3 separate regions of the Homo sapiens genome follow, and all the other regions are linked to region 3. Evidence: promoter capture Hi-C in human tissues and cell types (Jung and others, 2019). All regions are on one chromosome and are shown on one strand. The core of a region is centred on a gene start or on the middle of the fragment in contact, and the rest is flanking DNA. Distances in the headings are between cores, read along the strand shown. Region 1 overlaps FNDC3A (fibronectin type III domain containing 3A). Region 2 overlaps CAB39L (calcium binding protein 39 like). Region 3 holds the start of CDADC1 (cytidine and dCMP deaminase domain containing 1).

Region 1 (2,700 bases), core at 181-2,680, 140 kb after region 3:
TTTTGCCATCAGAATAATAAGTTATTGCTAATTACATTTAAAATAGTAAAATCACACAATTGCTTCAAGTGGCCCTCCTTTTACCAGAAATACGAATATATATGTAGTTACAATTCAAACCATTTTATACTTTGATAGCCGCTAAAATAGTTTATAATTTGGTAATACAAGATTCTACTTTGTTTTTTAATTATATCTAAGTGTGATGCTGAAAAGAGAAATGTAAGCTAAAATAAACCAGTAGTAAATATATTACTAGATGTAGTCCAGGAAAAAGACTGATTAACTTACTTCTTTACGAAGTAATCCTTTCACTCTAGCAAAAAAATTTTTTTTTTATCCTGAGGCAGAAATTGTACATGGTTAGATTTTTTTTTTTTTTTTTTGAGACGGAGTTTTACTCTGTTGCCCAGGCTGGAGTGCAGTGGCGCTATCTCAGCTCAATGCAACCTCTTCCTCCTGGGTTCAAGTGATTCTTCTGCTTCAGCCTCCCGAGTAGCTGGGATTACATGCATGTGCCACCACGCCCGGCTAATTTTTGTATTTTTAGTAGAGACGGGGTTTCACCATGTTGGCCAGGCTGGTCTTGAACTCCTAACCTCAGGTGATCCACCTGCCTCGGGCTCCCAAAGTGCTAGGATTACAGGTGTGAGCCACCATGCCCGGCCAGATTTTCTTTTAAAAAGACAATTTATCGGTATCATATTTAATGCCTAAAATATTGCTGTGAAGTAACATTCAACACTGAATGCAAACCCCTATTGTATAAACATAATAAATACAAGTATCGATGTTTAGAACTACAACGTTTACAGCATCTCATGTCTGTTGTTACTCCTGTGTCTATAGTAGCGAAACCTTAAAGCCTTGCATATTTAATGATGTAAATGTTTGATTAGCTCCTTAGTTCCAACAATACTTTTTAATTTAGAAAGTAACAGAAAATTAACTACAAACTGACTTAAATTTGTATGCAATGAGGGAGATTTTGTCCCAAGGAAGAAACTCAGATCCTATTGACAAATGTATGCCTGGCACAAGAGTAGCAATACCTGACAACAACTGTGCATACACTTAGCAGCTCCTTTATAATCTATGTGATTTGAGCATGATTTACCCCAATCATGGAGCTATTAAGGATACATTTCCTATTTCAAAAACCTGCAGAAGAGTAAACAATTCTAACCAATTGTCTTAAGAAATTTGAGAAGCTCCCCACCCCTGCTTCTTAAAAAGTGCCATCACTGACTTAAAGAAGATATTTCAACTAGTATAACTTAAATTCTTCTTTATCTTTCCTTGTTAATATACATTCATATTTAAGAGGTTTTTTTTAAATAAAATTACAAATTTGTCCAGGAGTTTTAATTCTTAAAATGCAACGTGCTGCCGCTGTGCTACACATTCTCTATAAGCCAGCGTTCACAATGGCTTCCAAATAATCTGATGCCAATTTTCAGATTTTAGCTCTAGAAGAAAAACCTAGTAAAATAAAGATCCTAGAATGGAATATTCCGTGGAATACAAAATTACAAAATAACTCTACATAGTCTAACCTTTTTGTATTTACATGGCAACAATTTAAAATATTTTATGGCGATGATATTTAGCATCTATTTTTAAAAACACACGGCATGACTTTAGATTAATACAATGCTTTCTGTCTTAAAATAAAAGCAGAATGTTCGAAAACAGCAAATCTTACCACTCATTTCGTTTTTACAGTAGCAGCAGAGAACAAGAAAATCCAACAAGGAAACAGCGTAGTACACGTTAACAGCTTTAATTGGAGAACGGCTTTTTTTTTTTTTGCAAGGCTGTAAGAGGAAAAGATCCTTTGACCGAGTCACGTGACAGTCATCACGTGACCTGCAGTGACCCAGGAAAGGGCAAGGGGGAAAAAAAAGCAAACGTTCCCGCTTGCAGCATTTCTGATATAGGGGAAAAAAAAGATTAAATGATTTCTACTGCTGCTGCCCTGAATTTGACCATCTTTCAGACTTCCTTATGAACCAATTCAAAAGCTCATCAAAGTATACTTTTCAGAAATATATATTTGATGTACAATGATTCTCTTTGTGTTCAATAACACCACAGGTGCTATCTTCTAATTTTTTACTCATGCAGCCTGCCGCTAATTTTCATTTAGAACATTTGAGATAATATTAATTTAAAAGATTCAGTCTGAAATGTCATTGTATAACGTAATTCTCCATACTCAATCCTTAAGGAATATCCACAATACACAAATAATTGTGTATAGAATATAGGTTTGATAGACATGTGTCTCAAAGGTGGGATTTATGTTTCAGGCTGTTATTTGCCTCTTAAGAGAATAAAGACTACCACTTTCATTATTGGTTTTATTTTCTTTCTGATTTTTTTAAATTTAAGATTTAAATTAAAGTGCAGGTGCTCAGTAGATGGCATTCTTACTCATATCCACGAATCTGAAAAGACAGCCTCAGGTGCAGGTTCAGAGTTCTCTATCCAAGAACAAGTAGAGACCAGAAAGGAGACCAAAGATGTCCAGTTACAACAGGAAAGAATAAGAACTTTTGGAGATCTTTCATTACTTTATGGTGCTATGTAACTTCAGAGGAAATTTATTAACAGCTAACAAAAATATACAGGTAATGATAATGACAGTGGTTTGTAACAAGTTGTACAGTGGAAAGAAAGTGAATTTTGGTATTAAAA
Region 2 (2,746 bases), core at 88-2,587, 180 kb before region 3:
TAATGTCAGTGATAGAGGGTTAAGCAAATTACTGTAGTATTAGTGTTGTCAAAAATGATAATTTTTTGCTGGGTGCAGTGACTCATGCCTGTAATTTCAGCTATTTGAGAGGCTGAGGCAGGAGGACCGCTTGAGGTCAGGAATTCAAGAGCAGCTTGGGCAACATAATAAGACCTCATCTCTAAAAAAATTTTAAAAATTAGCCAGTATGGTGGCATGCCTGTAGGGCCAGCTACTAGGAAGGTTGAAGCAGGAGCATCACTCTAGTCTGGGAGTTGAAGGCTGCAGTGAGCTATGGTCATACCATTGATTCATGTTTCTTATCTGTAAAGTGGGGCTAACATAATAATATTTGCTTTAGTTTTCTTTCAAGGCTATTGTAAAGAATACATATGAACAGTCTGGATATTATAAAATGCTATATAATTATAGTGAGGAATATTAATTTAGCATTTTTTGTTTACATTTATATCAACTTAAAAACAAATTTTCAGACATCTTTGAAGTAAACCATTTAATTTCTGGAATTTAGAAATATATATTCAAAATATGTGATTGTAATCATTGACTTGTTTATCTTTGCTATGCTTTTTACTTAACTTTTGTGGTAGACCGTTGTCTATGCAAAAGTCATACCAACCTCCTACTTTCCTGCTTTCTTTTTATGATTGAGGCAAAAAATGCCACATACTTATTTTTCTAGGCTCCTTGGCACTTAGTGGGTAACTGTTTTATTCTCTTCAGGCCAAAGAGATATAGAAGTTTATTGGAGAGCTCCCTGAACAATATTTTCCCCCTAAGAAAAGAGAAGTTATGTGAAGAAGTTCCCCCTTTCCCTCCCTGTTTCTTTCCTTCCTTATTTGGGTGTTGTAAATGAGACTCTGCCTGGAATTGCCAAGCCACTGCAGCAGCCAGCCTCCAAGATGGCCCCCACCACCTGCTGGTATTTGCGCCCTGTGGATTCATTCTTCTTCCATACTGTGCCAAGACTGGTCTGTGTGACCAATAAAAAACAGCAGAATGTTAATTTTAAGATTAGATTATTAAAGACATTGCAGTTTCCATCTTTATCACGCTTTTGCTGATCACTTGCTCTGGGAGAAGCTAGTCAAGTGAGCATCCCTATGGAGAGGCCCAAACAGCAAAGAACCAAAGCCTCTAGCCAGTAGCCAGTAGTCCTTCCAGCTCCAGTCAAACTTCATGATGATTGCATTCCTGCCTGAGGCTGACATTTGAGTCAGAACCATTGAGCTAACTACTCCTGGATTCCTGACTCTCAGAAACTATGTGAAATAATAGATCTTAAGCTATGTGTTTTAAGCTTACAAGTTTTGGATAATTGTTACACAGTAGACAACTAATTTGATACTGGCACTAGAGGTTGATTGATGCAGTAGACTGATTGTGTCCCCACAAAATTCCTATGTTGAAACTTAATCCCTAATGAGATGGTATTTGGACATGGGGCCTTTAGGAGGTGATCAAGTCATTAGGGTGTAGCTGTCATGAATAAGATTAGTGTCCTTGTAAGAGTCCTGAGAGAGCTTGTTTCGCCTTCCACTATGTGAGGATACAGCGAAAAGATGGCCATCTGTGAACCAGGAAGTGGGCCCTCACTGGACCCTGAATCTGCTGACACCTTCATCTTGGGCTTCCCAACCTCCTGAACTGTGAGAAATAAATTTATATTGTTTATAAGCCACCCATCTATGTTATTCTGATATAGCAGTTCAAATGAAGTAAGATAAGTGATGTCAACAATTTTTTTTTGAGCTAGGGTCTTGCTCTGTTGCCCAGGCTGGAGTGCAGTGATGCTATCACAGCTCACTGCAGACTTGACCTCCTGGGCTAAAGCAGTCTTCCCATATCAGTCTCCCAAGTAGCTGGGATTACAAGTGTGCACCACCACGCCCAGCTAATTCTTTTATTTCTTGTAGAGATATGGTCTTACTGTGTTGCCCAGGGTGGTCTCAAACTCCTAGGCTTAAGTGATCCTCCTGCTTGGCCTCCCAAAGTGCTGGGATTGCTTTGGGAACAATCCCATATGAGCCATGGTGCCCAGCAACAAATATTTTAAGTGGGCATGGCTTTGGAACTTCGTAGTGGATGAAAGGTGAATGGACATTGAAGACACTGTCAGTGTAAATCTAAAGTATCTTGGAGAAACTGTAGACTCATGTTTTTTTGGTGAGGTTGCCAGGAAGGGCTTAAAGGAAAATGGGAGAATCTTTTTAGAAACTGGAGGAAAGGGGATCCTTCTAATATAGTAGCATAAGCTTTATAATGCAACACTGTCACCTGTAGTAATGTAGAAACTAGAATGCACATAATGAACTGAGTACCGTAGCTAAGAAGATTTCCAACTAGACTTGAAGGTGCCACCTGGTTTGTGCCTAAAGAGTGACAGGAGCAAGTATGCTAAAGAAAGGATTGATAAACCTGAAGGTGCTGAGACTTGATAGTTTTGACCATGTCAGCCTCTCCAAACAGTAAATGATGCTAAATTAAGAAATGGCTTCTTCTAAGTGAAAGGGAGAAATAATAATTTTCCTCAACCTTCATAAGTTCGTAGTTGGGACAGACTCCTGCAGCAAAAAACAGATGAACAAGAGAGAAACAAACACGTATAGTAATGCTGCAGTGCAGTTCACATGAGAGAAAAGTAACTCAAGAGTGGCTTAGAGTGGTTTAGAATCCCAGCTCATAGAAAATCTTCAATAAAGAGCAATAAATTGGCTGGGCGCGG
Region 3 (2,776 bases), core at 51-2,550:
AGACAATAATCTTATTAGCCGAACTGACATATGAATACCATTAGTACCCGATAAACATGGTATTCTCAGAAAGTATTTTTAGAATGGAAGATGACTTATTACGGCTGGGAATTATAAAGTGTCATGTTAATCAATAAAGATATTTTTTAAATCTTAAGCCTTGTTAAGTTTGGTTTTAGGTATGACAGAAACTGGAGCAATAAACTCAGATTTTAAACCACTGCTTTTCTAAGGGGAAAAACTATGAAACAAATTATACCTGAGATTTTTGCCGCTGGGCTTCTGCTGGAAAGAGCTCCATCCAGAGGCTGAGCAGAGTGAAAAGGTTGACTTTAGAAAGCCTTGGTATCTGACCTACAAAAGAGACGACAAACACTTTAAACTTTGTTACTAATGGTGAAAAAGGGAGCCAATCTCAATGCCACTTAGGTGCTGCAGCCTAAGCCCAGCTGCTTTCGCAAGAGGCACAGAAAAAGATAGGGGACAAGAGAGTCAGAGGTATCTTAGCAGTAGACGCTTCAGCCTTAGTCGTGGCTACCTCCTTCTCCACTTAAAAAGTTGAGCCTTCTTTCTCCAGCCCTCACCCTGCAGGAAAAAACGGTACAGCTAATACACATAGCTGAGGGGGACAACCCAAAGCAAGCTGTGAAAAGTCTTCGCATCTGACGTCGTCGTGGTGCAAGCTTTTCTTTGGACTGTGATGGGGCGTTGCTAAAAGGAAAGCGATTAGAACACAACCCGAAAAATGCGCTGACCTTCGACGGTAAAGCAGTCGAAATACAGGAAAGCGTCACGTGCGGTTAATTTGGAAATCAAGGCAAAAGCGCCGTTTGGAAATGTTCAGGCTCTTTGACCTCAGAGGCCCCAGCTCTAGGTCCTGTGAGAAGTAGCTAACAGGGGTAAAAAGCGAGACTTCAAAAGCCAGTGCGACCGAGCCGATTGGTCCTGGCGACCGCGGAGGGGACACGCAGAGGGCGGGCAGGAGACATCCAAAAGCAGCAGGGGAGGCAAAGAGGCTCAGACAAGGAATCTGGAGTTCAATGACGGGAGACGCACAGGGCAGAGCGAAAGGTAGGGTGGCGGGAGCAGGGTCCCGGACACTCACCGGTCATGCTGCCAGTCTGGGTGCTGACTGACCGCCCGGCCCTCGCGCTCTCCAGATTTTGCATCTGCCCAGCTTCTTTCATCCCAAACCTAGCGTCCTCTGCTGCCAAGGAAACCTCTCCCAGTCAGACATGATCTCGGCCCTAGCGCCCCCGCCTCTCGCCTCCTCTCAGCAACTGTAAGGCAACGGCCCACTAGGCGCAGCCAGATGACGCCTCAAGCTTGACCGCCACTTCAGGGCTCCTCGTGTGACGTCATAGAGAGGCGGGGCTTTGGCGCCAGAGGGCTGCCCCTCGGCCGGTGACCGAGTTAAGCACCGAGCTGTAAATCGCTTGAGACCTGTATTTGGTTGTTTTGTTGGTTTTGCCAAGTAAGGTCACTTGAGGATTTCTTGGCTCGAGGTCCCAGGTTGCGCAGACTCTGACTGCATCGAGTTGAGAATTTTGGTCAGAATGTTAAAGTGGAAACCTACCCCAGGCTGTCATGGTCAGTGTTTTAGAGAACTTCTTGGGTTGGGGTGTGGAGCTGGGCGGTCCAGGATGTTCTGTCATCAGAGACTGGCGGGTTCTGGGGAACTTGGTGCCATGGAACACAGTAGGGACGTTCTGCTTCTCATCAAGAACATGAAGACATTAAGAGGTGGAATTGTAATGGGGAAAAAGGTGAGAGGAGGCAGTAGGAGTTATTTTGTTTTTAATTTCTAATGTCTAGTTTATTTCCACAAAACATCTGTATCATACCAGTTCTTTGAAATTTGTTCAGACTTGTTTTATGACCTAGATCAGCACTGTCCAGTAGGATTTCCTGTAGTATTCTATATCTGCACTGTCCAATATGGTAGCCACCAGCCACATGTGGCTATTGAGCATCTGAAATGTGGCCAGTACAACCAAGGAACTGCATTTTTAACTTCATTTAGTTTTAATTAATTTACATTTTAAGTAGTGACATGTGGCTATTGGCTACTACTGTATTGGACAACATTACTCTAGACTCTCCTCCTGGAATTCCTATTAGGCATAGGTTAAACCTTCTGAGGTTCTAAATTATTATTTTTAAAATATTGCATCATTTTGTTTCTCTGAGCCACATTCTGGCTAATTTCTTCAGATCTATCTTTCAGCTTGCTATTTATTTCTTTGGCTTGTAGAATTTTTTCTAGTTCGCCTGTTCTGAGGGTAAAGCTCTTCAGGTGATTTGACTATATCCAGAGAACTCCATTCTGCACCTTTCCTGAAGTGTAGACTTTGTTGACAGTGCCTTCATGGCAATTAACACTAAGGTTTAAAGACAGGCCATGGACTAGGAGAAAATATTTGCAAAGCATGTATCCAACAAAGGACTCATATCCAGAATATATAAAGAACCATATAAACTCAGAGTAAGTAAACAGTCCAGTTAGAAAATGGATCAAAGACTTGAATAGTCATTTCACCAAAGAAGATATACAGATGGCAAATAAACATGTAAAACAGTGTTCAGTGTCATTGGCCATTAGGGAAATGTATATTAAAACCACAATGAGATTCTACTACACACCTATTTAAATGGCTAAAATAACAAGTACTGACAGCACTAAATGCTAGTGAGGATGCAGAGCAACCGGATCTCTCAAACATTGCTGGTAGGACTATAAAATGGCATAACCACTCTAGAAAACAGTTTGACAGTT

Evidence for each region. The method cuts DNA at HindIII sites, captures the fragments that hold promoters and counts their contacts. A contact is called where the count stands out against the background at its distance.
Region 1: a fragment that was not itself captured here is called in contact with the fragment with the promoter of CDADC1 in region 3 in 1 of the 25 tissues and cell types used here (lymphoblastoid cells).
Region 2: a fragment that was not itself captured here is called in contact with the fragment with the promoter of CDADC1 in region 3 in 1 of the 25 tissues and cell types used here (aorta).

Annotation. Positions count from the first base shown.
Region 1 is chr13:49,109,412-49,112,111 of GRCh38, reverse strand. The region is part of intron 3 of FNDC3A (fibronectin type III domain containing 3A); the gene reads right to left. Among named protein-coding and RNA genes, the nearest start is that of MLNR, 110 kb to the left of the region's middle. The HindIII fragment of the contact is 6,783 bases long and covers 1-2,700 here.
Region 2 is chr13:49,426,713-49,429,458 of GRCh38, reverse strand. The region is part of intron 3 of CAB39L (calcium binding protein 39 like); the gene reads left to right. Among named protein-coding and RNA genes, the nearest start is that of CAB39L, 16 kb to the left of the region's middle. The HindIII fragment of the contact is 4,830 bases long and covers 1-2,746 here.
Region 3 is chr13:49,246,449-49,249,224 of GRCh38, reverse strand. It overlaps CDADC1 (cytidine and dCMP deaminase domain containing 1), which reads right to left and starts at 1,300. Exons shown (of 10, transcript NM_030911.4): 1 at 1,106-1,300; 2 at 260-354. The coding sequence starts at 1,187. LOC105370203 (a long non-coding RNA gene) reads left to right here and starts at 1,385. Exons shown (of 2, transcript NR_135318.1): 1 at 1,385-1,590. RefSeq lists enhancers at 1,178-1,407, 877-1,439. The HindIII fragment of the contact is 6,098 bases long and covers 1-2,776 here.